Regions from separate parts of the Homo sapiens genome. Here regions 1, 3, 4 and 5 are each linked to region 2. The links are contacts of gene promoters, found by promoter capture Hi-C in human tissues and cell types (Jung and others, 2019). All regions are on one chromosome and are shown on one strand. The core of a region is centred on a gene start or on the middle of the fragment in contact, and the rest is flanking DNA. Distances in the headings are between cores, read along the strand shown. Region 1 holds the start of C1orf167 (chromosome 1 open reading frame 167). Region 2 holds the start of UBIAD1 (UbiA prenyltransferase domain containing 1). Region 3 overlaps DRAXIN (dorsal inhibitory axon guidance protein). Region 4 has its middle 47 kb from the start of LINC01647. Region 5 overlaps CIROZ (ciliated left-right organizer protein containing ZP-N domains).

The links. The method cuts DNA at HindIII sites, captures the fragments that hold promoters and counts their contacts. A contact is called where the count stands out against the background at its distance.
Region 1: a contact is called between the fragment with the promoter of C1orf167 here and the fragment with the promoter of UBIAD1 in region 2, in 1 of the 25 tissues and cell types used here (spleen).
Region 3: a contact is called between a fragment that was not itself captured here and the fragment with the promoter of UBIAD1 in region 2, in 6 of the 25 tissues and cell types used here (aorta, bladder, dorsolateral prefrontal cortex and 3 more).
Region 4: a fragment that was not itself captured here is called in contact with the fragment with the promoter of UBIAD1 in region 2 in 2 of the 25 tissues and cell types used here (heart left ventricle and thymus).
Region 5: a fragment that was not itself captured here is called in contact with the fragment with the promoter of UBIAD1 in region 2 in 1 of the 25 tissues and cell types used here (spleen).

What each region holds. Positions count from the first base shown.
Region 1 is chr1:11,759,002-11,764,854 of GRCh38, reverse strand. It overlaps C1orf167 (chromosome 1 open reading frame 167), which reads right to left and starts at 2,662. Exons shown (of 21, transcript NM_001010881.2): 1 at 2,550-2,662; 2 at 385-524. The coding sequence starts at 454. It also overlaps the pseudogene LOC101060126. The HindIII fragment of the contact is 8,265 bases long and covers 1-4,976 here.
Region 2 is chr1:11,269,104-11,274,734 of GRCh38, reverse strand. It overlaps UBIAD1 (UbiA prenyltransferase domain containing 1), which reads right to left and starts at 1,537. Exons shown (of 2, transcript NM_013319.3): 1 at 675-1,537. The coding sequence starts at 1,203. RefSeq lists enhancers at 1,269-1,318, 1,409-1,578 and silencers at 1,579-1,628, 1,689-1,958. The HindIII fragment of the contact is 12,769 bases long and covers 1-5,631 here.
Region 3 is chr1:11,714,365-11,720,403 of GRCh38, reverse strand. DRAXIN (dorsal inhibitory axon guidance protein) reads right to left here. Exons shown (of 7, transcript NM_198545.4): 6 at 5,196-5,285; 7 at 1-820. The coding sequence ends at 708. Among named protein-coding and RNA genes, the nearest start is that of AGTRAP, 19 kb to the left of the region's middle. RefSeq lists an enhancer at 591-660. The HindIII fragment of the contact is 6,853 bases long and covers 826-6,039 here.
Region 4 is chr1:11,559,666-11,565,156 of GRCh38, reverse strand. No RefSeq gene overlaps it. Among named protein-coding and RNA genes, the nearest start is that of LINC01647, 47 kb to the left of the region's middle. RefSeq lists an enhancer at 5,186-5,491. The HindIII fragment of the contact is 3,838 bases long and covers 46-3,883 here.
Region 5 is chr1:10,967,574-10,973,624 of GRCh38, reverse strand. CIROZ (ciliated left-right organizer protein containing ZP-N domains) reads left to right here. Exons shown (of 13, transcript NM_001170754.2): 3 at 3,536-3,655. Among named protein-coding and RNA genes, the nearest start is that of CIROZ, 11 kb to the left of the region's middle. RefSeq lists a silencer at 5,022-5,121. The HindIII fragment of the contact is 8,687 bases long and covers 1-6,051 here.

The sequences.
Region 1 (5,853 bases), core at 1,413-3,912, 490 kb before region 2:
TTGAACTCTTGACCACAGGTGATCCACCCACCTTGGCCTCTCAAAGTTCTGGGATTACAAGCGTGAGCCACCACGCCCGGCCCTCTGTGGCTTTCTTAAAGCCTCAGCAGCCTGAGAAGGGATGTCCCCAGGACCGAGCTGTGGGGGCCCCATCTTAGCCAGGGGCACCAGCCAGGCCTCTTCCTGACCTCACTCTCCCAAGACCCCCCTCCTTAGGCCCCAGGCTGGGAAGACTCTGTCCTATGTCCAGCCGACCGTGGGTGGCTGATCTCTGGAATTAGCCAGGCCCTATAGGCTGGCCTGCCTGGGAGGGGGGCTCTGGGCCAATACCTAGAGAGGGCCCTGCTCCTGTAACTGCCCATCCAGGCCCACTAAGCCTCTTGCCTGGCTTCGGGAGCGCTGCAGGCTTTGGGGACACATTCTCCTTGTGGCTGGCATCAGACCTTAGCTCCATGGGCTCAGGGACAGGAGTATCCTTGGTCCACTCCACAGTGAGTGGCCTGGTCTGTTTAATCAGATGGGCCCTGCGGGGAGAGGACAGGTTGCCCTGGCTCTCATTCAACCCCACCCCATTCTGATCCCTACCTCCTCCCTTTAGCAGTACTCCTAGCTGCTCTTGGCCTGGTCCCAGCTGCCTGGGGCCTGCCCCTCACTGTTCTGGTCTCTCAGTGGCTCCTCTCCCTGCCCTACTTATCACCCCCCTTTCCATATTAAGTGTCCAGGTCAAATGCTGCCCCATCCTGCCCCCCAGACCTCTCGGCTGATCTGCATACAGGTCTGAACATGCAGGTCCAGCGACCTCCTCCACGCCTACCCGGATGTCTAACAGGCATCTCAGCATTAATATGTCCAAAACTGAACTCCAGCCGTCCTCGCAACCAGCTCTCTCCCATCTTGGTGCCCCCCTTTTCCACGGATGGCAGCTCCGGCCTTCTGGTGGCTCAAACAAAAATCCTGGAGCCACCCCGATTCCCCTTCTCCCTCACACCAGTGGCTGCTCTGACAGGCTCTGCCTCCCACACGCATCCAGGATCTGACCCCTGGAGCACTGGGCGGAGTGGCCCTCACCTGCCACCTCCCAACTGGTCACCCTTATTCTGCCTCGTCCTCACGCCCGACAGCCTCCTCTTCATGCGGCGGCAGGGTGATCCTGTAAACACTGAAATCAAATCATGCCCTGCCTCAACTCTAATGCCACAGAAGCTCTCCAGCCCCCTCAATGCCCCGTGAGCCTTCAAGGCTGTAGGCCAGAGGTTAGCAAATTACTGCCTGGGCCAGTGGTCTATTATGTGAATAAAGTTATATTGAAACAAAGCCCATTTGTTTACAGACTGTCTGCTTTCCAGCTGCAATAGCAGAGCTCAATAGCTGCAAGATACCTTAGGCTGCAAAACCTTTTTTTTTTTTTTTTTGAGCCGGAGTCTCACTTTGCCACCCAGGCTGGTACAATGGCGTGATCCCGGCTCACTGCAACCTCCGCCTGCCTCCCTGGGCTCAAGGGATCCTCCCACCTCAGCCTCTAACAAGCTGGAACCACAGGCACATGCCACCACGCCAGACTAATTTTTCTATTTTTTGGTAGAGACAGGGTTTCACCATGATGGCCAGGATGGTCTCGAACTCCTGACCTCAGGTGATTGGCCCGCCTCGGCCTCCCAAAGTGCTGGGATTACAGGCGTGAGCCACCACACCCAGCCCCGCAAAGTCTTTAAAATCTGGCTGCCAGTTATGGTCCTCCCCAATTCCTCTTCCCCTTGCCCACTGTCCTCCACACACACCAGCCCCCTGGCTGCTCCTCCAAATGGCACACACGACCTCACCTCAGCGCCTCTGTGCTGCTGTCCCCTCTGCCTTCAAGTCTTGCCTCCCACATCACAGTGAGCCCTCCCTGCCCACTGTCTCTCCAACTGCAGCAACCTGGCCTCTCCTCACTCTCTTTGCCCTGCACTTGCGGCCACCTAACATAGTGAAGAAATTAGTGTATTTCTCCCTCCAGTGGCCTAGGAGCCACACGAGGGCAGGCTGGTTTTTTTTGTTTGTTTGTTTCCCTGCTGGATTTGCAGCCCATAGAACAATGCCTGACCCCCAGCAGGGGCTTGTAAATGCACATTGAATAAATGACAACCGTGCTAGGCACCTTGCAGCCTTCAGCAGGCGTCCTGCCATTTAATCTGCACTGCAGCCCTGGGACTTAGGTTCCCTGTTTTAGAAATGAGGACAGGAGCTTAGAAGGGCCTGTCCCACCCAAGGCCTCAGAGGGAGCACCCCAGGGCTGGCTCCACAGCGCAGACTCCTAACCAAGAACACCCCACCATCCCCTCTTGCCCAAGTTGACTTGAGGCCGCTCAATCCACAGGAGACCTTCCTGCACCCCTGCCCCTCACGCCGGAGCTCTTCGGTCCATTTCTCCGCTCCTCGTCCGTCTCCCTCAGACTCCCCCCTCCCACTCCACCCCCACCCCTGTCCACTTAAGGGGGCTCACAGCCTCCCTCCTCTTGCCACCAAAAGAGTCTGAGGTCAGTTTCCTGCCCTCATGGATCTGCCCTCACGTGCGTGGGTCCTCCTCGGGTCCTCCTTCACCCAGTCGGATTTGAATCTAGACGGGGGCTGGGACCGCTAACGATCCCCGCAGGTCGGCAGGTCGCGGGCGGGAGGGGACGTCGGAGAGCAGAGCGTGCTGCCCCGCGCTTGGCCCCGCCCAGCCCTGAGCCGTGGGCGTGGCCACCGACGTCCTGGTACAGGTTTTGCCGGGTCCTCCGCAGGCAAGGCACGTGGTCCCAGGGCAACTTTTGCACGTGCAAGATGAGCGACATTCTCTTGGCCATCAGGTCCCCGGGAACCTCCTCCACCCTCTGCCCCGAATCCTGTGGCAGCATCACTGGGGTCTGGGCTTCCTCCACCAGGCGTGCCTCCTCTTGGCTCCTTCCCGCACCTAGAGCTGCCTCCTGGAGCCCCCGCACATCTGGGATACCCCCAGCCATGTCCCCACCACCTATGCCTCTTGGGGCTGCAGGACATGCCCCCGGCTCCCACTGGTAGGAACCCCAGGGGCAGGACATCCGGGTCATGGACACTCACATCCTCACCCGTTCCCAATAGGTGCGATGTCCCATCCAGGGATGTCTCAGATGCAGCTGGCAAACCATGGCCCTCATGGCTGAGGACACACCCGTGATGGGACCCCAGGATCTGGGGGGCAGCCACCACCCTGATCACCACCTGGAATGCCTCATCCTGGACCTCCTCCAATGAGCATGTCCCCCAAGGGGTCTCGGTCTGGATCTCCCATGGGTCACTCACGTCCTATGCCTCCATGGTATGTGTGGACCTCCTCCACCGATGCTGCCTCATGGATACACTGGCCCTCCCCAACACCCACCCTATGGCTTCCGGGGGGGACTCTCCCTCCACCCAGACCCACTCCGGGGCCTCCAGTTCCCCCTCAAGGCCCACTTTGGGGCCCTCTCCCTCAGTAAATTCACATTCTTCTTCCTCCTGTTATATCTTCCCAATATCTTTTTGATTCCTTGGACCAGAGATGCTGCAGCTCCTTGCAACTAAGGCACAAATCCCTTTCAGCCTTCCCATCTTCCTTTTTAATGCCATTTTTTTCCCCATAGAAGGTATTTCTTTTTCATGTTGGTCCTAAGTATTTTGCAAATGCAAAGGAAAATAAAACTATAACAAATTTCTTGTTAAAAGAAAGAAAGAAAGAAAGGCTAGGCACAGTGGCTCACACCTGTAATCCCAGCACTTTGGGAGGCTGAGGTGGACGGATCACAAGATCAGGAGTTCAAGACCAGCCTGGCCAACATGGTGAAACCCTGTCTCTACTAAAAATACAAAAATTAGCCGGGCATGGTGGCGGGCACCTGTAATCCCAGCTACTCAGGAGGCTGAGGCAGGAGAATCACTTGAACCTGGGAGGCAAGGGTTGCAGAGAGCCAAGATCCTGCCATTGCACTCCAGCCTGAGCAACAGACCAAGACTCTGTCTCAAAAAAAAAAAAAAAAAAAAAAGAAAAAAAGAAAAGAAAAGAAAAGGCTGGATGTGGTGGCTCATGCCTGTAATCCCAGCACTTTGGGAGGCCGAGGCAGCCGGATCACTTGAGGTCAGGAGTTCAAGACCAGCCTGGCCAACATGGCAAAATCCCATCTCTATTAAAAATACAAAAAGTAGCTGGTGTGATGGTGTGCACCTGTAATCCCAGCTATTCAGGAGGCTGAGGCAGGAGAATTGCTTGGACCTGGGAGGTGGAGGTTGCAGTGAGTGGTGATCATGCCACTACCCTCCAGCCTGGGTGACAGAGTGAGATTCTGTTTCAAAAAAGAAAAAAAGAAAGAAAAGAAAAGAAAAAAAAGAAAGAAAAACTCTCCCAGCCTTCAGGCACCTCAGAAACTGGCTGGACTCCACCTTAATACCCAAGCTTTGCCGTGCCGTCAGCCTAGCTCGATCACACTTCCTTCAAGGCTGCAAAGGTCCGTCCACTTTCCACCTCCCAAACCTTTGCCCACATTGTTCCCCACTGTGCCCAGCCATCCCACTCCTTCCTCTGTCCAGACTGTATGTTTTCTCCTTTCTAAGCACCTGCTGGGAGAGGAAAGAGCACTCAGTCAGAAAACCTGTGATGAACTCCTTCTGCTGGCCAGGCGCAGTGGCTCACACCTGCAATCCCAGCACTTGGGCAGGCTGAGGTGGGAGGCTCTCATAAGCCCAGGAATTCAAGACCAGCCTGGGCAACATTGCAAGACCTCATCACTACAAAAAAAAATACAAAAATCATCCGGCTGTGGTGGTGCACACCTGTGGTCCCACCTACTTGGGAGGCTGAGGCAGTAAGATTGCTTGAGCCCAGGAGTTCAAGGCTTCAGTGAGCTACGATCATGTCACTGCACTCCAGCCTGGGCAACAGAGTGAGACCCTGTCTCAAAAAAAAAAAAAATCCTTCTGCTGCTGTGTGATCTTAGGCAAGTCCCTAACCTCTCTAAACCTAAGGTTCCTCATATGTAAAAGGGGGATGGTTAGGCCCGATGCAATGGCTCACGCCTGTAATCCCAGTACTTTGGGAGGCCAAGGTGGGTGGATCACTTGAGGTCAGGAGTTCCAGACCAGCCTGGCCAACATGGCGAAACCCCGTCTCTACTAAAAATATAAAAATTAGCTTGGTAGTGGTGGTGCGTGCCTGTAGTCCCAGCTACTGGGGAGGCTGAGGTAGGAGAATCTCTTGAACCCGGGAGGCAGAGTTTGCAGTGAGCCAAGATTGCGCCACTGCACTCCAGCCTGGGTGACAAGAGTGAAACTGTCTCAAACAAAACGAAACAAAACAAAACAAAACAAAAGTGGTGGGGGTGGTAACACCTCCCTCCCCTACCTCTCTGCCTTGATGTGAGGGTCAGATGTTTAACAAATAAATGCCAAAGAACTTTTTAAATGCTAAAGCAATTCTTGAAGAAGGAGGGGGTGATTACTGCTCCCTTTATAGGTCTGTGTGTCTAATCTTTCCTCCTAAATCTGGTGGATGGAAGCTTTTGTTCTTTAGGTTTATTTATTTTATTTTATTTTATTGTTTGTTTATTTATTTATTTATTTGAGACGGAGTTTCGCTCTTGTTGCCCAGGCTCGAGTGCAATGGTGTGATCTTGGCTCACCGCAACCTCCACCTCCCAGGTTCAAGCGATTCTCCTGCCTCAACCTCCATAGTAGCTGGGATTACAGGCATGTGCCACCACGCCCGGCTAATTTTGTATTTTTAGTAGAGACGGGGTTTCTCCAGTTGGTCAGGCTGGTCTTGAACTCTCGACCTCAGGTGATTCGCCCACCTCGGCCTCCCAAAGTGCTGGGATTACAGGCATG
Region 2 (5,631 bases), core at 288-2,787:
GGGGAGCTGAGGCAGAAGAATCGCTTGAAGCCGGGAGACAGAGGTTGCAGTAAGCCGAGATGGTGCCACTGCACCCTTGCCTGGGCAACAGAGCGAGACTCTGTCTCAAAAAAAATAAAAAAAATTAAAAAATGTCCTGACAGGGCGCGGTGGCTCACGCCTGTAATCTTAGAACTTTGGGAGGCTGAGGCGGGTGGATCACGAGGTCAGGAAATCGAGACCATCCTGGCCAACATGGTGACACCCCGTCTCTAATAAAAATACAAAAATCAGCCAGGCGTGGTGGCGTGCACCTGTAGTCCCAGCTACTCGGGAGGCTGAGGCAGGAGAATCGCTTGAACACGGGAGGCAGAGGCTGCAGTGGGCCGAGATCGCACCACTGCACTCCAGCCTGGGCGACAGAGCGAGACTCCGTCTCAAAAATGAATACATAAAAAATAAATAAAAATAAATGTCCATATAAAATTTTCAGTCATGCCCTACGTCCGTAAGTCAAACCAGGATCTTCTCAAATCACTGTTTCAAAAAATTCACATCACCCACAATTATAGACTTCAATTAAAGCGGCTTAAATTAGAAAGCCACCTTTGACATCCCTATAACTCCTTTACAAAGCAGCGGTTTCCAGTGGACGCGACTAAGACCTGCAGCACACAGGACAGGCCAAATCTTACCTCCTGTGTAGAGAAAGGAGCCAGACAGGCCTCCAAAGTAGATAAGAGCCAAGTGCTCCAGTTTCAGAGGGGACAGGTAGTAGAGGCAAGCGGCACAGACGCAGCCCAACGTGTAGAGGAAGACTCCGAACCGGACGACATCCTGCGGCTCCAAGATTCGGTCCACAAGTGTCCTGTCATCACTCTTTTTGTGGTCAATGCCCTTGGAAAAGTCATAGTAAGTGTTGACCAAATTACCGGCCCCGTGCACAGCCAGGACAGCCACGGCACAACCCACCAAGAGCCTGGGATCCAGGACACCGTGGGATCTGTAGGCAAGGGCACTGCCCAGGGCCACCGGTGTGAGTGAGGCACTGAAGCTCCAGGGCCTCAGGGCCAACACGTAGGAGGCACACTTCTGCCTCCAGGAGCGCTGGGGGAGCCTATCTTGCTCGGGACAGTCGTTCCCCAGCGGGTCCCTGTCCCCAGCTTTGACAGTCTCTCCCGACAGGATGTTAATCTTCTCCCCCAGGACCTGAGAGGCCGCCATGGAAGCTCCACGTGGTTGAAGTAAACTCTAAAAGTGAGCCACGCACAGTGACCGCCCGGGAAGGAGGAAGGACGGGGCGGGGCAGCAGGGCCCGACCTTCCTTCGGTTCCGCCCCAGGACAGGGCTGGTGTGGCGGCAAGGTCCGGGGGCAACAGCAAGTGGGTCTTACACCCCACGAGGCCAAGCGGCGCCGCCCCTACTACCCGTCACCTGGGCGAAGTCTGTCTCCGGCCCCCAGCCCCGCGTTAGAGCCCACGGCTGAGCCGCGGCCGCCTTCTTTAGGCCGCCAGAGCCGCCATCTTGTGCGCCGGCCTCTGGAGGCCCGCCCGGAAACAGGTGCCGGCGGCGCGGGCTGGACCGGAGGGTGGGCTGGAGGGCGGGAGGGGGCGGGGCCGAGCCAGAGGCGGGGAGAAGGGCGGTGAGGGGTGGGGGGCGGGGGCCTGGTCAGAGGCGGGGCGGGCAGGGCCGAGTCAGAGGAGGGGCGGGGTCAGAGGCGGGGAGAAGGGCGGTGAGGGGTGGGGCGGGGCTGAGGGGCGGGGCCAGACCGGTGGTGGGGCGGGAGGGGGCGGGGCCGGGGCGGGAATGGACCGGGAGCGGGGACGGGCCAGGAGCTGGGGCCGGGCGGTGACCCGGCATCCAGCCCTTTTCCTGCCTGCACTGCGCCCCGCAGCTACTTCCAGACTAACTGCAATCAGCCTCTCTTAGCATCATAAGAACTCGAAGGCGTGTTGCTTTAGGACTTACCGGGCGCACTTTCATTCACGAAGTAGGATTCATTAATTTATTCATGCTACAAGCATTTATTGAGCGCCTGCTGTGTGCATACATTCTGACGTCTATCATATCTGCACCGTGGAAATACTCTATGATGTGCTACTGCTCACCTCTTATCAGCTTTTCATTCAGTGACATCCTTCAGCAGCTTGAAATCTGCCCATGGTGGGAGAATTTACACCACGCAAATCAGCAAATGCTTAATAACTGCTAAGTCGTCTAGACTTAAGAAAGTGGCGGAGAAAATGTTCATATTACTGGTTAAACTTAAAAGTGTTGGAGGGTGCGGTGGCTCACGCCTGTAATCCCAGCACTTTGGAAGGCCGAGGCAGGCGGATCACTTGATGTCAGGAGTTCGACATCAGCCTGGCCAACATAGCGAAACCCTGTCTCTACTAAAAATACAAAAATTAGCCGTGCGTGGTGGCAGGCACCTGTAATCCCAGCTACTCGGGAGGCTGGGGCAGGAGAATTGCTTGAACCCGGGAGATGGAGGTTGCAGTGAGCCAAGATCATGCCAATGGGCTCCAGCCTGGGCAACAGAGTGAGACTCCATCTCAAAAAAAAAAAAAAAATTAGCCGGGGGTGGTGGTGCATTCCTGTAATCACAGCTACTCGGGAGGCTGAGGCAGGAGAATTGCTTGAACCCTGGAGGCAGAGGCTGCAGTGAGCCAAGATCACGCCACTGCACTCCAGCCTGGGCAGTAGAGCGAGACTCCGTCTCAAAAAAGAAAAAAAAGAGAGAAAAAAAGTGTGTAAGTGAATGCACCAAAACTTTGAGGAAATATTCGTTCAGCATTGGCAAATTATTATCCAGTTGAACAAATAAGTCGCTTGTAGCCTTGACAAACTAGTGAAGTTCTGACATATCTCTTTTGATTGTTTCACTTTCCTCTTACTCCTAACATAAAATATCAACCAACATTCATGTCTGAACTATGCTCATTGATCAATTGGGACCATAGGGAAGCTACACAACATCAAAGAAAGCATACTGTGAGAACTGGCTATATGGAGTTTACAATAGAGTCCTGTACTGTATATTTTAGTATTTGTAAACTGTATGCTACACATCATTTACATCAGTGAAATTATAATACACATGCAACATAGATGCACACAGGACTGACTACATAATTTGTGGTACCCAGTGCAAACTAAAGAGGTGGAGCTGGGGGTGATAATGTGTGCCTGTAGTCCCAGCTACTCAGGAGGTTTTTTTGAGACGGAGTCTTGCTCTGTTGCCCAGGCTGGGGTGCAGTGACACAATCTCGGCTCACTGCAAGCTCCGCCTCCAGGGTTCACACCATTCTCCTGCCTCAGCCTCCCGAGTAGCTGTGACTACAGGCGCCCGCCACCACGCCCGGCTAATTATTTTGTATTTTTAGTAGAGACAAGGTTTTACCGTGTCAGCCAGGATGGTCTCTATCTCCTGACCTCGTGATCCGCCTGCCTCAGCCTCCCAAAGTACTGGGATTACAGGTGTGAGCCACCGCACCCGGCGGGAGGATCTCTTGAGCTCAGGTTAGAGACCAGCCTGGGCAACAAAGTGAGATCTCCGCTCTAAAAAATTAAAAAGACCAGATGTGGTGGCTCACACCTGTAATCCCAACACTTTGGGAGGACAAGGCAGGTGGATCGCTTGAGCCCAGGAGAAGACCAGCCTGGACCACACGGTAAAAATCGAAGAATTAGCCAGGTGTGGGCCAGGTGCAGTGGCCCACGCCTGTAATCCCAGCACTTTGGAAGGCCGAGGCGGGCAGATCATGGGGTCAGGAGATAAGACCATTCTGGCTAACATGGTGAAACACCATGTCTACTAAAAATACAAAAAAATTAGCCAGGCGTGGTGGCAGGCACCTGTAGTCCCAGCTACTTGGGAGGCTGAGGCAAGAGAATGGCATGAACCCCGGAGGCGGAGCTTGCAGTGAGCCGAGATCGTGCCACTGCACTCCAGCCTGGGCGACAGAGCAAGACTCCATCTCAAAAAAAAAAAAAAAGAAAAAGAAAAAGTAAAAGAATTAGCCAGGCGTGGCAGTGTGCACCCGTGGTCCCAGCTACTTGGGAGGCTGAGGCGGAAGAATCACCTGAGCCTGGGAAGTTGAGGCTGCAGTGAGTCATGATTGTGCCCCTGCACTCCAGCCTGGGTAATAGAGTGAGATCCTATCTCAAAAAAATAAAATAAAATCAATAAATAAGTGGGGCCAGGCCAGGCACGGTGGCTCACGCCTGTAATTCCAGCACTTTGGGAGGCCAAGGTGGTCAGATGACCTGAGGTTGGGAGTTCAAGACCAGCCTGACCAACATGGAGAAACCCCGTCTCTACTAAAAATACAAAATCATCCGGGAGTGGTGGCGCATGCCTGTAATCCCAGCTACTCAGGAGGCTGAGGCAGGAGAATCACTTGAACCCGGGAGGTGGAGGTTGCGGTGAGCCGAGATCGTGCCATTGCACTCCAGCCTGGACAATAAGAGCAAAACTCCATCTCAAAAAAAATAATTAATTAATTTAAAAAATAAAAAAAATAAGTGGGGCCTCTTGTTCAAAATCATTAACAATTGCAAAACAGAGCATGACACAGCTGTGAAGCTAGCTCTGTACATGTCTGCTTCCACTTACCCCCAATCTGGTTGTTGAACATTACAACTTCACCACTCAACACAGAGCTTTCTATGCTGGCCAAACCCATGAGTCATACAATGTCAAATCAGACAATATATCAGCAGATAGATTAAAATCCTGGCTCTATCACTTACCAATTCCATGTCCCAATATCTCTGTTCTTTGGCTTACTTATATATAAGGTGGGAACAATACAACCTGCCTCATAGAAATGCTCAGGAATAATAGTAAACAGCATTTATTGACTTTTCACATGAGCCATATACTTTGTTTGCTTTTGAGACGGAGTCTTGCTCTGTCGCCCAGGCTGGAGTGCAGTGGTGCGATCTCGGCTCACTGTAACCTCCACCTCCCAGGTTCAAGTGATTCTCCTCCTCAGCCTCCTGAGTAACTGGGATTACAGGCGTCTGCCACCATGCTCAGCTAATTTTTATATTTTTAGTAGAGATAGGGTTTTACCAAGCTGATCTCGAACTCCTGACCTCAGGTGATCCACCTGCCTTGGCCTCCCAAAGTGCTGGGATTACAGGTGTGAGCCACCATGCTGGGCCAAGTACCTCTTTTAGGTACTTTACGTGTGGTATTAGCGTTTAACCCCCACAATACTGCCTACCAACGAAGAGACTATAATCCTTCCAGTTTTACACATAAGGAAATAGGTACAAAGTGTTGCAGCCAAATTTCAGATTCAGTTAGTTTGACTTGACTCCAAGCTGCTTTTAACAAGTACTCTATAATGTCCACCAAAATCCCTGATACACTGTAAGTGCTCAATAAATATTAGCTATTATTTTAGTGTAATGCATAAGAAAGTTCTTTGTAGTGGGAGTTGAACAATGAGAACACATGGACACGGGGAGGGGAACATCACACACCGGGGCCTGTTGGGGGTTGGGGGGCTGGGGGAGGGATAGCGTTAGGAGAAATACCTAATGTAAATGACAAGTTGATGGGTGCAGCAAACCAACACGGCACATGTATACCTATGTAACAAATCTGCACGTTGTGCACATGTACCCTAGAACTTGAAG
Region 3 (6,039 bases), core at 3,003-5,502, 440 kb before region 2:
CCAGGCTGGTCTCGAACTCCTGACCTCAGGTGAGCCACCCGCCTTGGCCTCCCAAAGTGCTGGGATTACAAGCGTGAGCCGCCGCGCCCGGCCAGATGTACATTTTTAACTGGACCTCCAGGTGACTCTTAGCATGTTCAGGTTTGAGGAGCACTGACCTGGGACCCTGGGCAAGTCGAGTCAAATAACTCCAGCGTGCCTCACGGTCCTCAACCTGTCGCATGGTGATAATGCCTACTTGAAAAGGTCGTTGTGATAATTCAATGAGATAATGTATTCCAGCACTTAGCACAGTGCCTGGTACATAGGAGATGTTCCATATTCATCTCCTGATGGTGGACCTTCTTTCGGGAAGTTTAAATTTCTTTTCCACTCTCAAAAACGCCTCTTGGTTTTGAACTTGAAGCTGTTGCAGTGCTGGAGTCGGACAGTAGAGGGCACTCTCGGCATTGCCATCGCGGAGAGCAAGACACGCGGGATGGAGGCTGCGTGGGTCCGGACTTCGTGTGTGCAGGTGCTGCGGGCCGGCTCCTGGGCACCCACCCAGCTCATTCGCCGAGCGGCTCCCCTCCTGGGGTTGAGTGTCCTGGGCCTGAGTCTGCAGCCTCAGCCATCTGTTCCCCAACTTGATCTCCCACTGCTAGTTACAAACAAATCGCCCGGCTTGTGCAAACCTCCTGGGCTCAGTCCCCAGTCCCGCGGGGCCGCTAGACGTTGATGAAGGATCCCTGGTCGCCGTTGGCCGTCTCGGGCTCCACACAGCGCCCTTTCCTCCGTGTAACCCTGCGGTTCCGGTGGAATTTGGCATAGCAGCGCAGCCCTGGGCGAGTGGAGGCAAGGGGGGTCAGAGGCGCGAAGGGCCCGTGCCCTCCCCTTCCTTCCCCTGCACGCTCGGGGCCAGCCAGCTCCCTCCTGCCTTCATTATTCTGCCCTACAACCCAGCTTCCTCACGGCAGCCCCAATGAGCTTAAAAGACACGAACCCGGAAGAGGGGAGGAATGAACACGGAAGGAGAACAGAGAAGACTCAGGGCGGTCGGGGCGGTGAACATATTCTGTGTGACACGTAATGGTGGGACATGGCATGCATTTGTCAAAACCCACAGAATGCACCGCACAGTGAACTATAACTTACGTTGACTTCAGTTAGTAATAATAATACATCACTATTGGTTTGTCAAGCAACAAATGTACCAAGAGAGGCCGGGCACGGTGGCTCACGCCTATAATCCCAGCGCTTTGTAAGGCCGAGGCAGGTGGATCACTTGAGGTCAGGAGTTTGAGACCAGCCTGGCCAACATGGTGAAACCCCGTCTCTACTTAAAAAAATACAAAAACTACCCGGGCATGGTGGTGGGTGCCTGTAATCCCCGTTACTTGGGAGGCTGAGGCAGGAGAATCACATGAACCCGGGAGGTGGAGCTTGCAGTGAGCCAAGATCATGCCACTGCACTCCAGCTGGGGCGACAGAGCTAGACTCCCTCTCAGAAAACAAACAAACAAACAAACAAACAAACAAATCTACCACATGATTGCAAGATGTTATTAATAGGAGAAACTGCATGCAGGGGCAAAGCAGGTATATGAGAACCACATTCTGTGAAATTTTTCTAGAAAACTGCTCTAAAAATAAAGTCCACAGGGTACGGTGGCTCACACCCGTAATCCCAGCACTTTGAGAGGCTGAGGTGGGAGGATCGCTTGAGCCCAGTAGTTCCAGACCAGCCTAAGCAACATAGGGAGACCCTATCTCTACAAAAAATGTAAAAATTAGCCAGGCATTGTGGCATACACCTGTAGTCCCAACTATAGGAAGGAGGGGCTAACATGAGAGGATCCTTTGAGCCCAGGAGTTCCAGGCTGCAGTGCGCCTTGGTTGCACCACTGTAGTTCAGCCTGGGTAACAGAGTGAGACTCTGTCTCAAAAAAATTAAAAAATAAAATACACAGATAAATTCAATTAAAAAGTCTATAATCTTGAAAATTGGAAAGGAAAAAGGTTATTAAATTTTTTTTTAAGTGGCTCAAATTCTGCCCTTCCCTGTAAAACATCCTATGGAGAGCCATTGCTTTTTTTTTTTTTTTTTTTGAGATGGAGTTTTGCTCTTGTCACCCAGGCTGGAGTGCAGCGGCACCATCTTGGCTTATGAAACCTCTGCCTCCTGGGTTCAAGTGATTCTCCTGCCTCAGCCTCTCGAGTAGCTGGGATTACAGGCATGCGCCACCACACCCAGCTAATTTTGTATTTTTTTTTTTTTTTTTTAGCAGAGATGGGGTTTCACCATGTTGGCCAGGCTGGTCTTGAACTCCTGGCCTCAAGTGATCTGCCCACCTCCGCCTCCCAAAGTGATGGGATTACAGGCATGAGCCACCGTGCCGGGCCTCCCTTTTTTTTTTTTTTTTTGAGACAGGGTCTTGCTCTGTTGCCTGGACTGGAGTGCAGTGGCATGGCAAGATCTCGGCTCACTGCAATCTCTGCCTCCTGGGCTCAAGTGATCCTCCCCACTTCAGCCTCCCAAGTAGCTGGTACTATGGGTGTGCGCCACCACACCCGGCTAATTTTTTTTTTTTTTTTTGTATTTTTGGTAGAGACAGTGTCTCTCTACCTTGCCAAGGCTGGTCTCCAACTCCGGGCTCAAGGATCCACCTGCCTTGGCCTCCCAAAATGCTGGGATTACAGGCATGAACCACCCCGCCTGGCCTCCAATGCCCACTTCTGTCTACCCTTTCTTTTTTTTTTTTTGAGACGGAGTCTCTCTCTGTTGCCCAGGCTGGAGTGCAGAGGCACGATCTCAGCTCACTGCAACCTCCGCCTCCTGGTTTCAAGAGATTCTCCTGCCTCAGCCTCCTGAGTAGCTGGGATTACAGGTGCGCGTCACCACACCCGGCTAATTTTTGTATTTTTAGTAGAGATGGGATTTCACCATGTTGGTCAGGCTGGTCTCAAACTCCTGACCTCATGATCTGCCCGCCTTGGCCTCCCAAAGTGCTGAGATTACAGGCATGAACCACTCCCCTGGCCTCCAATGCCCACTTCTGTCTACCCTTTCTAAAACAACTGTAGGACTCATTATCATATTATTATCTTTATAGCCCTTATTACTTACTTTTTTTTTCTTTTTGAGACAGAGTCTCACTCAGTCACCCAGGCTGGAGTGCAATGGCAGGATCTCGGCTCACTGCAATCTCTGCCTCCCGGGTTCAAGCGATTCTCATGCCTCAGGCTCCCGAGTAGCTGGAATTACAGGCAAGTGCCACCATGCCCATCTAATTTTTGTATTTTTAGTAGAGACAGGGTTTCACCATGTTGGCCAGGCTGGTCTCACTCCTGACCTCAAGTGATCCTCCTGCCTCGGCCTCCCAAAGTGCTAGGATTACAGGCATGAGCCACCATGCTCGGCCATAGCCCTTATTATTTTCTAAAGACATACTATCTATGTATTTGATTGTTGTCTGCTCATATCACTAGAATGTAATTCATGGGCACAGAACTTGCTGGTTCTTTTCACTACTGAACCCCCCAGTGTCCAGAGCAATGTCTGATACGCAGTAGGTGCTCCCTAAATATTTAACTGATTAGATGAGTGAATAATCAGAACTACATAGCTTTATTGCCGAGGCGGGAGGATCCCTTGAGCCCGGGAGTTAAAGCTACAGAGAGCTGGGATTGCGCCACTGCACTCCAGCCTGGGTGACAGAGTGAAACCCTGTCTCAAAAAATAATTAAATTAAATTTAAAAGTCCACAATTTTAAAAATTGGGAAGAAAAAGATGTATTATCATCATTTTTAAGACAGGGTCTCGCTCCATCATCCAGGCCGGAGTGCAGTGGCACGATCATGGTAGATAACTCTCTGAGGCTAATATGAGCAAAACGGGGCATGTATCTCAGGTCCACAGAGGGGCTGAGCCCCAATTCCCCCATCCAGGAGATGTGTGAATGCTGATTTGATATTGGATGGAACTGATTAATTATCGTTCATGTTTGGCATTTTGTTTTTAAAAGAGTACTTGTCTTTCAGAGGTACACACTAAAATATTCACAGGTGAAATACCTGTAAGCTCCCAGGAGTTGCTTAGAAATCATGTCGGAATAAGGAAAGTGTGTGAGAGATGATAGACACAGATTGGCCGTGAGTTGGTATTGAAGCAGAGTGATGAGAAATGGGCGCTCATTAGACTATTCTAACTACTTTAGTATATATTTGAAACTTTGCAGAATACAAAATTGAAACTGGCTGGGTGTGGTGGCTCATGCCTGTAATCCCAGAACTTTGGGAGGCCAAGACAGGTGGATCGCTTGAGGTCAGGAGTTTGAAACCAGCCTAGGGAACATGGCAAAACTCTGCCTCTACCAGAAATACAAAAATTAGCTGGGCTGGTGGCATGCGCCTGTAGTCAGAGCTACCTGCAGGGCTGGGATGGGAGGATCACCTAAGCCTGGGAAGCAGAGGTTGCAGTGAGCCAAAACTGCACTGCTGCACTCCAGCCTGGGTGACAGAGTAAAACCTGTCAAAACAAAACAAAAACCTGAAACTATTCCCCCCACTTTCCTGGCTGTGTAAGTTTGGGCATCATTAAGCTTTCTGTGCCCCAGTTGGCTTATTTGTACAGTGCGGATCATCATAGCTCCTTTCTAGGGGTGGTCATGGGGATTTCAGTAGAAAAGTGCTCAGCACAGAGCCCAGCACACTTAGGCGAGGTGGGGGCACGGAGGAGTTGAAGAGGCAGCTGGGCAAGTGCATCCTTCCCTGGGACATGCTGGGAAACCCACCCCCACCCCATTATCACACTTCAATGCCTCCTCTGGGATAGAATTCTGGTGTGAAAGCGGCAGCCTTCTGAGGCTGGATCTAATTTAAAGAGATGTGCTCCTGTCTCCTCCCTTCTCCCTCTTCCAGATAGTGGGAGATTGTGCCAGCTTGTATTTCAAAAGTTGAGAAAAGCAAATCTCAGAAATGATGCCAAGAATCAGGACTAAATGAGTTCACAGATTGGGAAGGCACTGATAAAGCTGTTCTTGCTCACGTCTTCGGCTCCCGAGGGATTCTCCCACCTACACCCCCGCCGCAGGCCCATGATCCACCCTCTGCCAGGAAAGCTTGTTCCCCACTCGGTGCAGAAGCCGCTTCGAGAAAGGGAGGCTTTGTGGTTCTCAGAGCATGGGTAGCCCCCCGCAAAGGAGTCTGGACCCACCTTCCACACACATGCAGTCATCGAAGCATTTGTTGTTGAGGCCTCGGTTGTGGGGTGTGCAGAGATGCTCCCGCAGGTCGCAGCAAGTCCCTGCCAACACAGAGAGCACACGCAGTCAGCCAAGCTGAGCCGCCCCTCCCCGCAGCCCTGCACTCGGTCCCACTGGACAAGAGATCCATCATCTCTGTGGCAGGCCGCGCCCTGGCGGGGTGGGCCATCTGGTGTGCAAGGCTCCTGAGTGGAACCACAGGGAGATGTCATGGCCGAGGCCCCCAAGGGTCGGTGGCAGAGACCCCAGCTGCCTCAGATGGGGTACTGATTGACCATGGGAAGAGCGAAGGTGGTGTGAGGTCTCCTCCCAGACAGAGCCAGTAGAACAGCTGGGGGCTGCCAGGTGTGGAGTCAGCTCAGAGCTGGGAGGGGCCTCAGGATCCCCAAAACCAATGTCCTCTTTTGACAGATGGGGAAACTGAAGTCCTGGGCACCTGCCATGGAGCCGGCTCCCAGAGCGACTGTCCAGTCGGCCCAAATGCGGGCCTTTTCTTTGTGCCCAGGGTGAAAACAATGGTTTGGGAATGAAGCAGCCTGTCAGGGAGCTGGTGGTTTGCCTTATACAATGCTAATTGCTGGTTTGGTTGCTGTTTTGTAGAATATTCTGGTCACTGATCTAACAATCGTGGTGCCGTGGAGGTGTGCCGCTCCGATCTCTCTTGGGGAAAGCACTTGCTGGCGGCCTCCAGCTGGTACAGCTTCAGGGCCACCTTGGCCCATGGCAGGCTGTTCCCAGCAGCCCCTGCCAATGACGGGCATGGGGGTTCTGGGGCCCAGCCATTTCTGCTCAGCA
Region 4 (5,491 bases), core at 715-3,214, 290 kb before region 2:
CTCAGATGATGAATAGACTTAAAGTCTATTTATTTTTAAAATAGACTTTGTTGCTGCTATTATAATAGCAGACGTGTTCAGTATGCAAAATTTGGGAACTGTAGAAAAGAAGAAAGTAGAGAAAGAGATCACTCTTGTTTCTACCACCCAGGGGCAACCATCAACATTTTGGGTTATCTTTCCTTCCAGGTGTTGTTGTTTTTTTTCTCTATGAGTTATTTTCATTTCACTGGGTTCAAACTGGTGTTTTTTTTTTTTTTTTTTTTTTTTTGATATGGGGTCTCACTCTGGTCACCCATGCTGGAGTGCAGTGGCACTGATGCAGGGCAGGCGAGCCCCAAAGTGGGGCTGAGTCCATGAGGGTTCTTGGCTTTTCCCAGGAAAGAAATCAAGGACAAGCCGGTGGTAGAGTAGAAGGAAACAGCTTTATTGAAATGGCAGTCCTACAGCTCTGTGACTGCTCCTGCAGAGCAGGGCTTCCCTGCAGGCAGAGAGTAGCAGCTCAGGGCAGTTTTGGAGTTATATTTATATTGATTTCTAATTACATGCAGATTAAGGGGAAGTTTATGCAAAAATTTCTAGGTAAGGGATAGTAACTTTTGGGTCACTAGGTCATTGCCATGGAAAGGGGCGGTAACTCCAGGTGTTTCCATAGCAACAGTAAACTGACATCGCACACTGGTGGCATGTCTTATGAAAAGTTGCTTTCCCCTGTCATCGTCCTGTTTTAGCCAATCCTCAATTTGGTCCAATGTCTGAGCCCCACCTCCAGAGTTGAGCCCTGCCTCCTACCGCAGTGCACCGCACAGCTCAGGGCAGCCTTGACTTTCTGGGCTCAAGCAATCCTCCTACCTCAGCCTCCTAAGTAGCTGGGACCACAGGCATGCACTGCCATGTCCAGCTAATTTTTTGACTTTTTTGTAGACAGAGCCTAGAACTCCTAGGCTCAAGCAATCCTCCCTCCTTGGGCTCCCAAAGTGCTAGGATTACAGACGTGAGCCACCGCACCTACCCTGATACTGTTGATATAATTTTGTGTCTTGCTTTTTTCCACTTTCTCCTATGGCATATAAGTATTTCCTCATGTAATGCCCAAGTCTTTATAAATAGCATCTTGAATGGCTGGGAAATACCCCACAGAGGGAGTGCCGGGCCGTTTCCCTAGCCAGTCCCCTCTTGCTGGACCTCGTGGTTGTTTCTGGGACATGAGTAGTCATCAGAGCTGGCAGCCAGCAGCAGGGAAACTGGTGGAGGCCCGGTGTGGGATCTCAGGCCGACTGGGCAGGCCTGGGGCAACGAGTCTGGAAGGCTGGCTGAGCTGCATTCACCGGCCACCTGCAAGGCCTGGCGCCCAGCTGTCGCCACTGTCAGACCTCCTCATCTGCAAGCAGCTTTATCTTCATTTCTGACGGATCTGCGGGGCCCCTGCCCTGACACTTCCTCTTTATGTCTCTCCCTCTCAGAGCCTCTCTGTCAAGTAGCTAATGAACTGTAAACAGACACTCCAGTGCCCCAGGGGGACCCTCCAAGGAGCTCGCAGAGCTGCCTCTCGACAGCAAAGAAACCTCAGGGAGGCAGATAATGGCCGGCCAGTATCAGCCCCGCTGGCTGGCGGGGACAGAGACTGTGAGTCCCTGCATGTGCTCTCCCTGCTGGGGACACAAAGGCCCAAGGGGCAGAGGGATGGCAGGGGCTCTCCTTAGACAGCCTGTGCCCTCAGATGCCATTGCTTATTGCTTTGGAAGCCTCAGTGGGTCCCTGCCCCACCTTCCTTGTCCCTGTCCCCCAGCCTCCCAGCTGTGTGTAAGCCTGGTTCATGGCTAGACTCAACAGAGGACCTTTTGGAAAATGCAGATTCCCAGGCTCCTGAGGCTAAAGATTGGGACTCAGTGGGTTGGGTGGGACTCCCATCTGATTAGATTGTCAAAATGCTTTGGGGACCACTGGTCTAGGCCGGGGACACACCCAAAGCTTGTTCAGAAGCCCTCTTTTCTGGGCAGCACCCCAGGATTGCCCCCTCCTCACTTGGAGCTTGGGGTTGCTGTGCTTTTAAGGAGCCCTGATGTCACTCCATTCAGGGTGGGATGGGCCCTTTACACTGCATCTCTCTGTTAGGCTTGGAGCCCTTTGAGGCCTGGCGCACAGTAGGTACTCGACCACATTTAAGGCGCACTTTGCCTTGGGCCAGGCGTTATCTTACATTCCCCCCTTTCATCCTCACAGCACTTTGTGACGTGGGGCCTTTTATTTCCACTCCCATTTTACAGATGAGAACACTGAGGCCCAGCAAGGTTGCATAACTTCCCCAGGTCACATGGCCTGTAGGAGGAGGATAGGATTCAAATCCTCTCCCCTCATTGCTACGCCATGGATACAAGTCTCTTATCAGATACATGATTCACAAATGTTTTCTCCCATGTTGCACATTGTCTTTTTACTTCCTTGACAGTGTTCTTAGAAGTTCAGAAGGTTTTTTTGTTTTTGTTTTTGTTTTTGTTTTTTGAGATGGAATCTCGCTCTGTTGCCCAGGCTGGAGTGCAATGGTGCCATCTCAGCTTACTGCAACCTCCGCCTCCCGGGTTCAAACGATTCTCCTGCCCCAACCTCCTGAGCAGCTGGGACTACAGGCGAGCGCCACCACGCCCAGCTAATTTGTGTAGAGATGAGGTTTCAGCATGTTGGCCAGGCGGGTGTCGAACTCTTGACCTCAGGTGATCCACCTGCCTCGCCTCCCAAAGTGCTGGGATTTCAGGCGTGAGCCACCACCCCCGGCCAGAAGTTCAGAAGTTTTTAATTTTGTTAAAGTCCAATTTATCTGTTTTGTTATTTTGTTACTTTTGCTTTTGGTGTTGTATCTGAGAAGGCTTTGCCTAACCCAAGGTCATGAAGATTTACTGCTATGTTTTCTTCTAATAGTTTTATAATTTTAGTTCTTACATTTAGGCCTATGAGTCATTTGGAGTTAATGTTTGTGTACAGTGTGAGGAAGGATCTCATGCCTTTATTTTTAAATTTTTTTTAGAGACAGAGTCTCAGTCTGTCACCTAGGCTGGAGTACAGTGTGGTATGATCATAGATCACTGCAAACTCTAACTCCTGGGCTCAAATGATCCTCCTGCCTCAGCTAGGACTGAAGGTGCACACCATCATGCTGGCTTTCTTTTCTTTTCTCCTTTCTTTTCTCCTTTCTTTCTCTCTCTCTCTTTCTCTCTCTCTCTCTTTCTCTCTTTCCTTCTTTCTCTCTTTCTCCCTTTCTTTCTCTTTCTCTCTTTCTTTCTTTCTCTCTCTCTCCTTTCTCTCTCTCTCTCTCCTTTCTCTGTAGAGACAGGGTCTTGCCATGTTGCCTGGGCTGGTCTTGAACTCATGGGCCCAAGCAATCCTCCTACCATGGCCCCCCAAGTGGTGGGATTACAGGAATAAGCCACCATGCCTGGCCTCTACTCTTTTGTTTTGCTCACAAGTATCCAACTGTCCCTGCATTGCTTGAAGAGGCTCTTCTTTCCCCATTTAGGGCTCACTTTTGAGGACAGGAGGGAGGCAGGTTTAGCAGTGTGTCTCCCCTGGCAAGTCCCATTACTCAAATCTCAGAGGTCCCAGAGAGGCCATGACAAGCCTCCAACTAGAGCCACCCCAAGCCCTGGATTTTCCATCTCAGGGTGACTCTCCGGGAACGCGGAGACACAGAGGGGAATCGGAGGGACACAGAGGTTGGCACAGCCTGTGAGGGAGGGCAGTCACCCCAAGGAAGATGACCCAGGCCATATACAACTTTCTAGGGAGGTGCTGGAGCTGACCTCTGCCTGCAGAGGGAATTTCGCAGGTCTGGGGACTCTAGAAGGAACACTGGGGAGGGGTTCTGCCAAGTGTTTGGGTGGGGGCAACAGGACAGTCTGAGTCAACAAGATTCTCCCAAAGCCAACTCCTTCAGCTCTCCCCATGCCCATCTGATGGCGACTCCTCAATCCCCAAGAGGGCTTCCCTGTGCCAGCTGGGGCCCTCCCGTGGCCTTCTCCCAGGACTCCTGTGTTCCTGCCTCCGGGTCTTTGCACCTCCTGCAGTCTGGGATGCTCTACTGAGTCTCTCCAGTGCTGCCTGCTGCTTGCTTCAAGGGCCGCCCAGAAGCCCACCCTGTTTCTCCCCACCTGCTCTGGAGCAGGACGTTGCCTGCTCTCACCTGGAAAATCCGGGGACAGCAGAGCCCTGAGACCGTCGAGGCCAGAGGTTTGCACACTGTTCCTCAGGGGTCTCTGCAGGGCCAATGGGCAGAACTTTGGATCCTCCCAGCCACCACCTTCCAGACCCATTTCACATACGGAACTTCCACTGAAGACTGTTTATACAGAGGGTCCCATGATTTGAGAAGTTTGAAAACTGACTGATCTAATCCAATTCCATCATATTACAGCTGCATGAATGAAAGCCAAGGAGAAGGGCCTTGTCTAAGTCTCCAGAGTAGAGCTGAAATAGAACATGGCCCCCCGATCCCCCTGTTCCCCCAGATCCTGTCCCTGTGTCCGAGAGCTTCATGGTCCCCTCCCATCCCCTGCTGCTGAAGCCCCAGTTGGGCTGTGTGCTCAGATAGAAGTAGGGTGAGCCCCCCACCCTCTGCCCCACCTGTCTCCCCACGGTTGAGTTTGCTGCCCTGGTTCCCCTGCCTATCTACAGCCAAGCTAATAAAATCCTGCAGTTTCCATAGATTGTAGGGTCCCGCCGAGCCCTCCGGCTGCTTTAGTTTCCAGTTGGTTTTGCAAGGAGGGGGAAAAGGCAAATGCCTATCACTCCACCTTTGGAAGGAGACGATGAATAGTAACTCCTTTATCTCTGAAGGAGATCTTTTCATGCTTGAAATTCCCTGATCTTGTCCCAGATCTGCCTGCAGGGATTCAAGATGGCATCCCCCACCCCATGCGGATTTGCTGACATCCTCAGATTTGTGTCAGGCACAAGGACCAGGTCCCTGGGGGAGGTGAGGATGCCCAAGCGGGAGGCATGAAAGAGCGGGGTCCCCGCCCTGGTGAGGGGGGTGAGTAGCTCTTCTGGTGCCACAGAGGGAGGGGAGGGTGGGGTCTTGGGCTCAGAGAGGGGTCTGAACTCATCATAGAATGCGGTTATGTGTGTTTGTGTGTGTGTGTGTGTGTGTGTGTGCGCGCGCGCGCACATGCACGTGCGTGCACATGCATGAACACTTTTGGGTGAAGGGACTGGCAGCTCAGAGCCTGCGTGTCCCCTCTGGTTTGGGGTCTTGTTTGAGGCAGAGAGGCGTCAAATGGGTCCACAGAAGGGAGCGGTGGCAGCTGAGGGAGCCCAGTGTCTGAAATGAAACATGGATGAGGCTTTAGCATCCTGGTAAATTGGTAGCTGGGGCTGTGGGCGGTGCTCCAGCTGGGGCTGGAGGCCCTGGCACTTGTCTAAACTGATAATGGCTGTTCTCAGTGACTCCCGCCTCCTCACCTCTGGTCTTCCCTCCTTGTTTGAGCTTATCGCTGCACCT
Region 5 (6,051 bases), core at 2,159-4,658, 300 kb after region 2:
GCTGCAGCCAGTGTGATGGCAGCAGCCACTGCCACCACTTCTAGGTGCCCTTTCCTCGTGGGGTTGTACAGACGGGGCCAGCTTCTCTCAGCAGCGATGAGTGACAATACATACAGAGTATGCAGACCTGAGAAGAGCTCCTGAGCCTTCCTATCCAGAGGGTTTACTGGAGGTCAGTTGCATAGCCATGGCTGACTACCCACGTGGCTGACTTTAGTCTTTTTAAAATTTTTATTTTGTTTTTAATTTTTTGAGACAGAATCTCGCTCTGCCATCCAGGCTGGAGTGCAGTGGTATGATCTCTGCCCACTGCAGCCTCCACCTCCCAGGTTCAAGCGATGCTCCTGCCTCAGCTTCCCGAGTAGCTGGGATTACAGGCACCCGCAACCACGCCCAGCTAATTTTTGTATTTTTAGTAGAGACGGGGTTTCACCATGTTGGCCAAGCTGGTCTCGAACTCTTCACCTCAAGTGATCTGCCCACTTCGGCATCCCAGAGTGTTGGGATTACAGGCGTGAGCCACTGCACCTGGCCTGACTTTAGTCTTGAGCCCCTCCAGAGGCTGAACTGATTACCACATGGTCCAAGGCCACCAGCATTAATCACGTTTTCAGCAAAGGCTATACGGCAAGGCCCAATGCCCCAGGTAAACAGACACTCTTTTTTTTTTTATTTTAAATTTTTACTTATTTATTTTAGAGATGGGGGGGGCATCTCGCTATGTTGCCCAGGCTGGTCTTGAACTCCTAGACTCGAGTGATCCTCCTGCCTCAGCCTCCCAAAGTGCTGGGATTACAGGCATGAGCCACCACACCCAGCCACAGAGACACTCTTAACAGGCAAAACATTCCAAGGGCTTAGAATTTACTTCCCAGTTGCTTTCACCCAGGAGGGGCAAAGGGCCAATTCTTTGGACCCAAGTTAATTATTTACTGCACATGTGCCCATTTTGCAGAAAAGGAAATGGGGTCTTGGAGAGATTAAATGACTCGCCCCAGGTCACATAGGTTGATCCAGGGTCTAAGCCCTGATCATCCAACTCCAGGGCCCAGGTGCCTTGTGTTCTTCCTGGTGGCTTAAATGTCTCTGTTGAGAGAGAAATTAGCCCGACAATATTATTCCATATTCCCATTTCTTCAGTTGTAGAATAATTCTAGAGTGTGTGTGTGTGTGTGTGTGTGTGTGTGTGTGTGTGTGTGTGTGTATTTCAGAGACAGGGTCTTGCTAGGTTGCCCAGGCTGGAGTGCAGTGGCATTCACAGGCATGATCATCGCACACTAAAACCTCAACTTACTGGGTAAAGGCGATCCTGCTGCCTCATCTTCCAGAGCAGCTGAGTCTACAGATGTGCACCACTGTGCCCAGCTTGGAGTATATTTAACTTAAGCTCTCTATCAACTCTGGGCAGGGCTCTATTGGGGGAAATAGGTTACATCCAACAGGATTCCACTTCCTGGGGCTGAACAATCTCACGATGCTGTTGTTCTTGTGTGATTACAGAAAACTCCAGTGTTCTGTACTAGAGTACTTGGGATGAAAACATGTGCCTAACCCATATTTAGCACGCCTCTGTGGATGCCACGCACAGGGCAAGGTGTTGGGGATGCCATGGTGAACAGGTTAGACATAACTCACGCCTTTTCCTGGAGCTTGTAGTTTATGTGTCATGGGGGAGAAGGAAAAAGACAAATCTCTGGGTCATGGCTTCTCTTATTCTCCAGCTTCAGGGCAGGTCAGGCTCCAGCCACAGCCCTTTGCTGGACAGATACTGAGCAGTTGCTGGCCAACAGGCACTGGTCCATGGGAGGACCCTGGGGATAGAGTGGTCAACAAGGCAGACATGGCCCCTCTCCTTCCTGAGCTTCTCTTTGCCTCAGTGCGAGACAACCTTATCTCCATCTATCCTCACTCGAGTAGAAGTATACAGAAATCTCACAAACAACTAGGTAACATATTCCCAACAGTGATTCAAGTCAGGAAGGAAAGAGACACAGGACCAGGGTAGAGAATGGGTGGGGGTGGTCAGTGAGGACCTCCCAGAGGAGGTGACATTTAAGCTGAGACCTGCAGATGAAGAAGAGCTAGCCACATGAAGAGTTGGGAATGGTGTTTCAAGCAGAGGGAACAGTATGTGCAGAGGCCCTGAGGTAGAGAAAAGACCAGCTTGGCTCAGGAACACATGGATTGTGGAAGTGTTTGGATTTTATTCCAAGGGTAGTGGGGAGCCATTGAAGGTTCTGAGAAGGGACTGACATGATCTCATTTCCATTTTAAGATCCCTTGTGGCTGCCGTGTCAAGAATGGACTGGGGCAGGATGGGCAGAGGCTGGGGTCAGGGGTGACCAGGACATTGCGCACTGCCTCTCCCCTCTGGTCTGGGCACAGGCTGTGCTCTCTGCCTGGAGTGGTCAGCAAAGCTGCAGAATTCCATGGCTGAGCCAGTTTGCCCCTACTCTACCTTTTCTTTTTTTTTTTTGAGGTGGAGTCTTGCTCTGTCGCTTAGGCTGGAGTGTAGTGGCGCCATCTCGGCTCACTGCAGCCTCTGCCTCTTGAGCTCACAGTCTTTCCGCCTCACCTCCTGAGTAGCTGGGACCACAGGCATGCACCACGATGCTCCGCTAATTTAAACAAAAAATTTTTTTCTTAGAGATGGGGGGTCTTGCTTTGGCCCAGGCTGGTCTCGAACTTCTGAGCTTAAGCAATCTGCTCTCCTCAGCCTCCCAAAGTCCTGGGATTACAGGTATGAGCCCCCATGCCTGGCGAGTACTCATATATGTACCATGAAGTCACCTTGCTCCCTGTCTCCCCCTATAAAACATAGAGTTTAGATTTAATGACCTCCAAGACTTTGCTACTCAAAGTGTTGTCCCTGGACCAGCAGCCATCACTTGGGAACTTGGTAGAACTGCTGAATCTCAGGCCCCGCCTTAGACCTACTGAATCTGTATTTTAACAAGTGCTCAGGTTACTTGTAGGCACACTGGAAATCTTTTTTTTTGAGTCAGAGTTTCGCTGCCACCCAGGCTGGAGTGCAGTGGTGTGATCTCGGCTCACTGCAACCTCTGTCTCCCAGGTTCAAGCGATTCTCCTGCCTCAGCCTCCTGAGTAGCTGCGATTACAGGCATGCGCCACCACGCCTGGCTAATTTTTGTATTTTTTAGTAGAGACGGAGTTTCACCGTGTTGGCCAGGCTGGTCTCGAACTCCTGGCCTCAAGTGATCCACCCGCCTCGGTCTCCCAAAGTGTTGGGATTACAGGCATGAGCCACCGTGCCCAGCCTGCAGGCTGGAATTTGAGGACCTCCCCAACAAGTTCTTCCTCCTTGGGCATTCTGTGAACTGTGACCTCTGTATGGAGTAAAGGGTCACTCTGTTAGGACAATATGACCCCTACATGCCCTTTCCTGACTATTCCATTGAAGCCAGGCTGAGAGGAGCTCCTTCTTTTCCTTCCTTCCTTCCTTCCTTTCTTCCTTCCTTCCTTCCTTCCTCCCTCCCTTCCCCACCTCCCTCCCTCCTCCTTCCTTCCTTCTCAGAAGCATCTTCTTGTTGGACAGACACAGTTGAGTGCTTCTCAGACTACATGACCCTGTGGATCCCAAGGAGCCACGTGGAGGGGCTGAGGCGGTGGCTGGCCAGGACCTTGCACTTGCCAGGTAAGAGGTGGTCGGTGGCTGGGCGGGGTCTTTGCTGGGGCTTTTGTGTTGCCTTCCCCTGCCTGCAATGCTCCTCCCCCATGGCTCTTGCAGGTTCCTGGGCATCACTCAAATCTCTGCTCAAAGGCCACCTCCCCCCACAGCCCTTCCAGGCTCTCTAAAGTCGTCCACGCCCACCCCAGTCACAATCCCGGCACTCCTCACTAGTAAGATGATCTCCTGCCATTGTTCCCAAGCTTGTCATCTGCGCCCCTCTTCCCAACAGAAGGCAGCACTGTGAGGGCACGGCCCACGTGCTTTTTGTTTACAGCTGCATCTTCAGAACCAAGAACACTGCCTGGTGCTTAGAAGATTCCCAATAAATATTTGTTGAATGAACAAGTGGCCCAAAGCCCTGGAAGAAGCGCCCATCTGGTGCCGCTATGCTCCAAAATCGAAATCACTCTGCAAAAGTGGAAGTGAGACTAAAGGGGTGATTCTCAAACACTTGGGAGAAATGGGAGGCCATCACATGCTTGGTGGGGGAAGAGCGCACCTAAAATAGCAAACAACAAGGGGCATAGTGTCACTTCCAGAAACCTTTCTGCCATGAGCTTTCCAACAGAAGGAGTAGGAAAGCATTGGATGTCTTCAGCGTACCTGGAACCTTCTGGAACCTTCTGGAGGGAACACGAGTAGAGAGAGGAGCAAATAGCTTGCTTCCCTCCATGCTCTGCATCTCGGTGGCTGCAAAGCAAGCCCCCAGGTTCCTCCTCTCTTTTGCACAGAAAAAGAGATATTGAGGAGGGAGGCTTTCCAATCTCACCCAAGTCTAGGAAAACCTCCTAGGGACCCTGCTCATTCTGGAAATTCCTAAAGCACCTTCTGGGACCGGTAGGGCCTAAATCTGCCCTGGGAGGGCCAACCACCCATTGGCCAGCCAGCCCGGGACGCCTTGGGAGAGACATTTGTGTATTAAAAGGCCACTTTTCCAGGAGAAAAGCTGTGGATACATTAAGCTGTCGCCTGTTCTTTGGAGAGCCATTATTAATGGAAAACAATAGATTAATAGTCTTAAAACGCTTGTTCAATAAGTAATTTTTATGGCTTTGGATAGAGCCCATTAAACATTTCTGTGTGTTATTATAAAGAAGTTTTAAGCGTAAAATCATAAAGCCAATAATCAGAGAATTAGTCACAGCGGCCAGCCACAGGCCATTAGTTTTAGGCGCTGTCAGAGACACCTGTGGCTTTTGAGGAAGAGTTTTCATTTCACGTGGCAGCGCCAGGTGGGGATGGAGAAATGACGGTGCCTGCTGCCTTCCATAAACTTGAGGGGACAGCAAGCAGGTGTGAGCAGCAGGGTGCCAGGCAAATATTTACAAAGTGCAAACGTGAATGCAAAACTAAAACGATCCAGGTCAGTTTGCACATCCAGCTCAGACACTTTATTTCCCCAGCGAGCTACCTTTCACAGTCTTCCTCCGCCAGAGGCACGGCCTTGATCTCTTGCTAAAGATAGCGGTGGAAGCTGCGTGCTTTTGAAAGGAAAGCATGTCACCAGAGAATCCCACGTAGAAAGGCTGCCAGAGCTGTTTTCTGGAATAGCGTATTCATCTTCCATCAAATGCACAGTCGAGTCAAGCATTTGAAAGTGAAACTGTGAGCTTTAAAAATGCTTTAAAAATAATCATGACAGAAGCAATACAAGATAATTACAGAAACTACAGGCAATCCAAAGGAGATAATCAAAACTGCTCGTAATCCCTCTACCCAGAGATAGCCCCCTTTATTTTTCACTCATTCAACAACTACTTATTTATTTATTTATTGAGACGGAGTCTCACTTTGTTGCCCAGGCTGGAGTGCAGTGGTGCAATCTCAGCTCTCTGCAACCTCTGCCCCACGGGTTTAAGCGATTCTTCTGCTTCAGCCTCCAGAGTAGCTGGGACTACAGGTGCCCCCCCACCGCGCCGAACGAATTTTTGTATTTTTATTTGTATTTATTTATTTTTTTGAGACAGAGTCTCACTTTGTTGCCCAGGCTGGAGTGCAGTGGCGCGACCTTGGCGCACTGCAACCTCCGCCTCCTGGGTTCAAGTGATTCTCCTGCCTTAGCCTCCTGAGTAGCTGAGACTACAGGTGCCTGCCACCACTCCCAGCTAATTTTTTTGTATTTTTAGTAGAGACAGGATTTCACCATGTTGGCCAGACTGGTCTCGAACTCCTGGCCTCAAGTGATCCACTCGCCTCGGCCTCCCAAAGTGGAGTGATTATAGGTGTGAGCCACCGTGCCCAGCCTCATTCAACAACTATTTATTGAGAACCTTCTGTGTGCCAGAAACAGCTTGAGGCACTAAAGATGCAGCAATGAACAAAACAGACAAATATCCCTGGCCCCATGGAGCTGACATTTG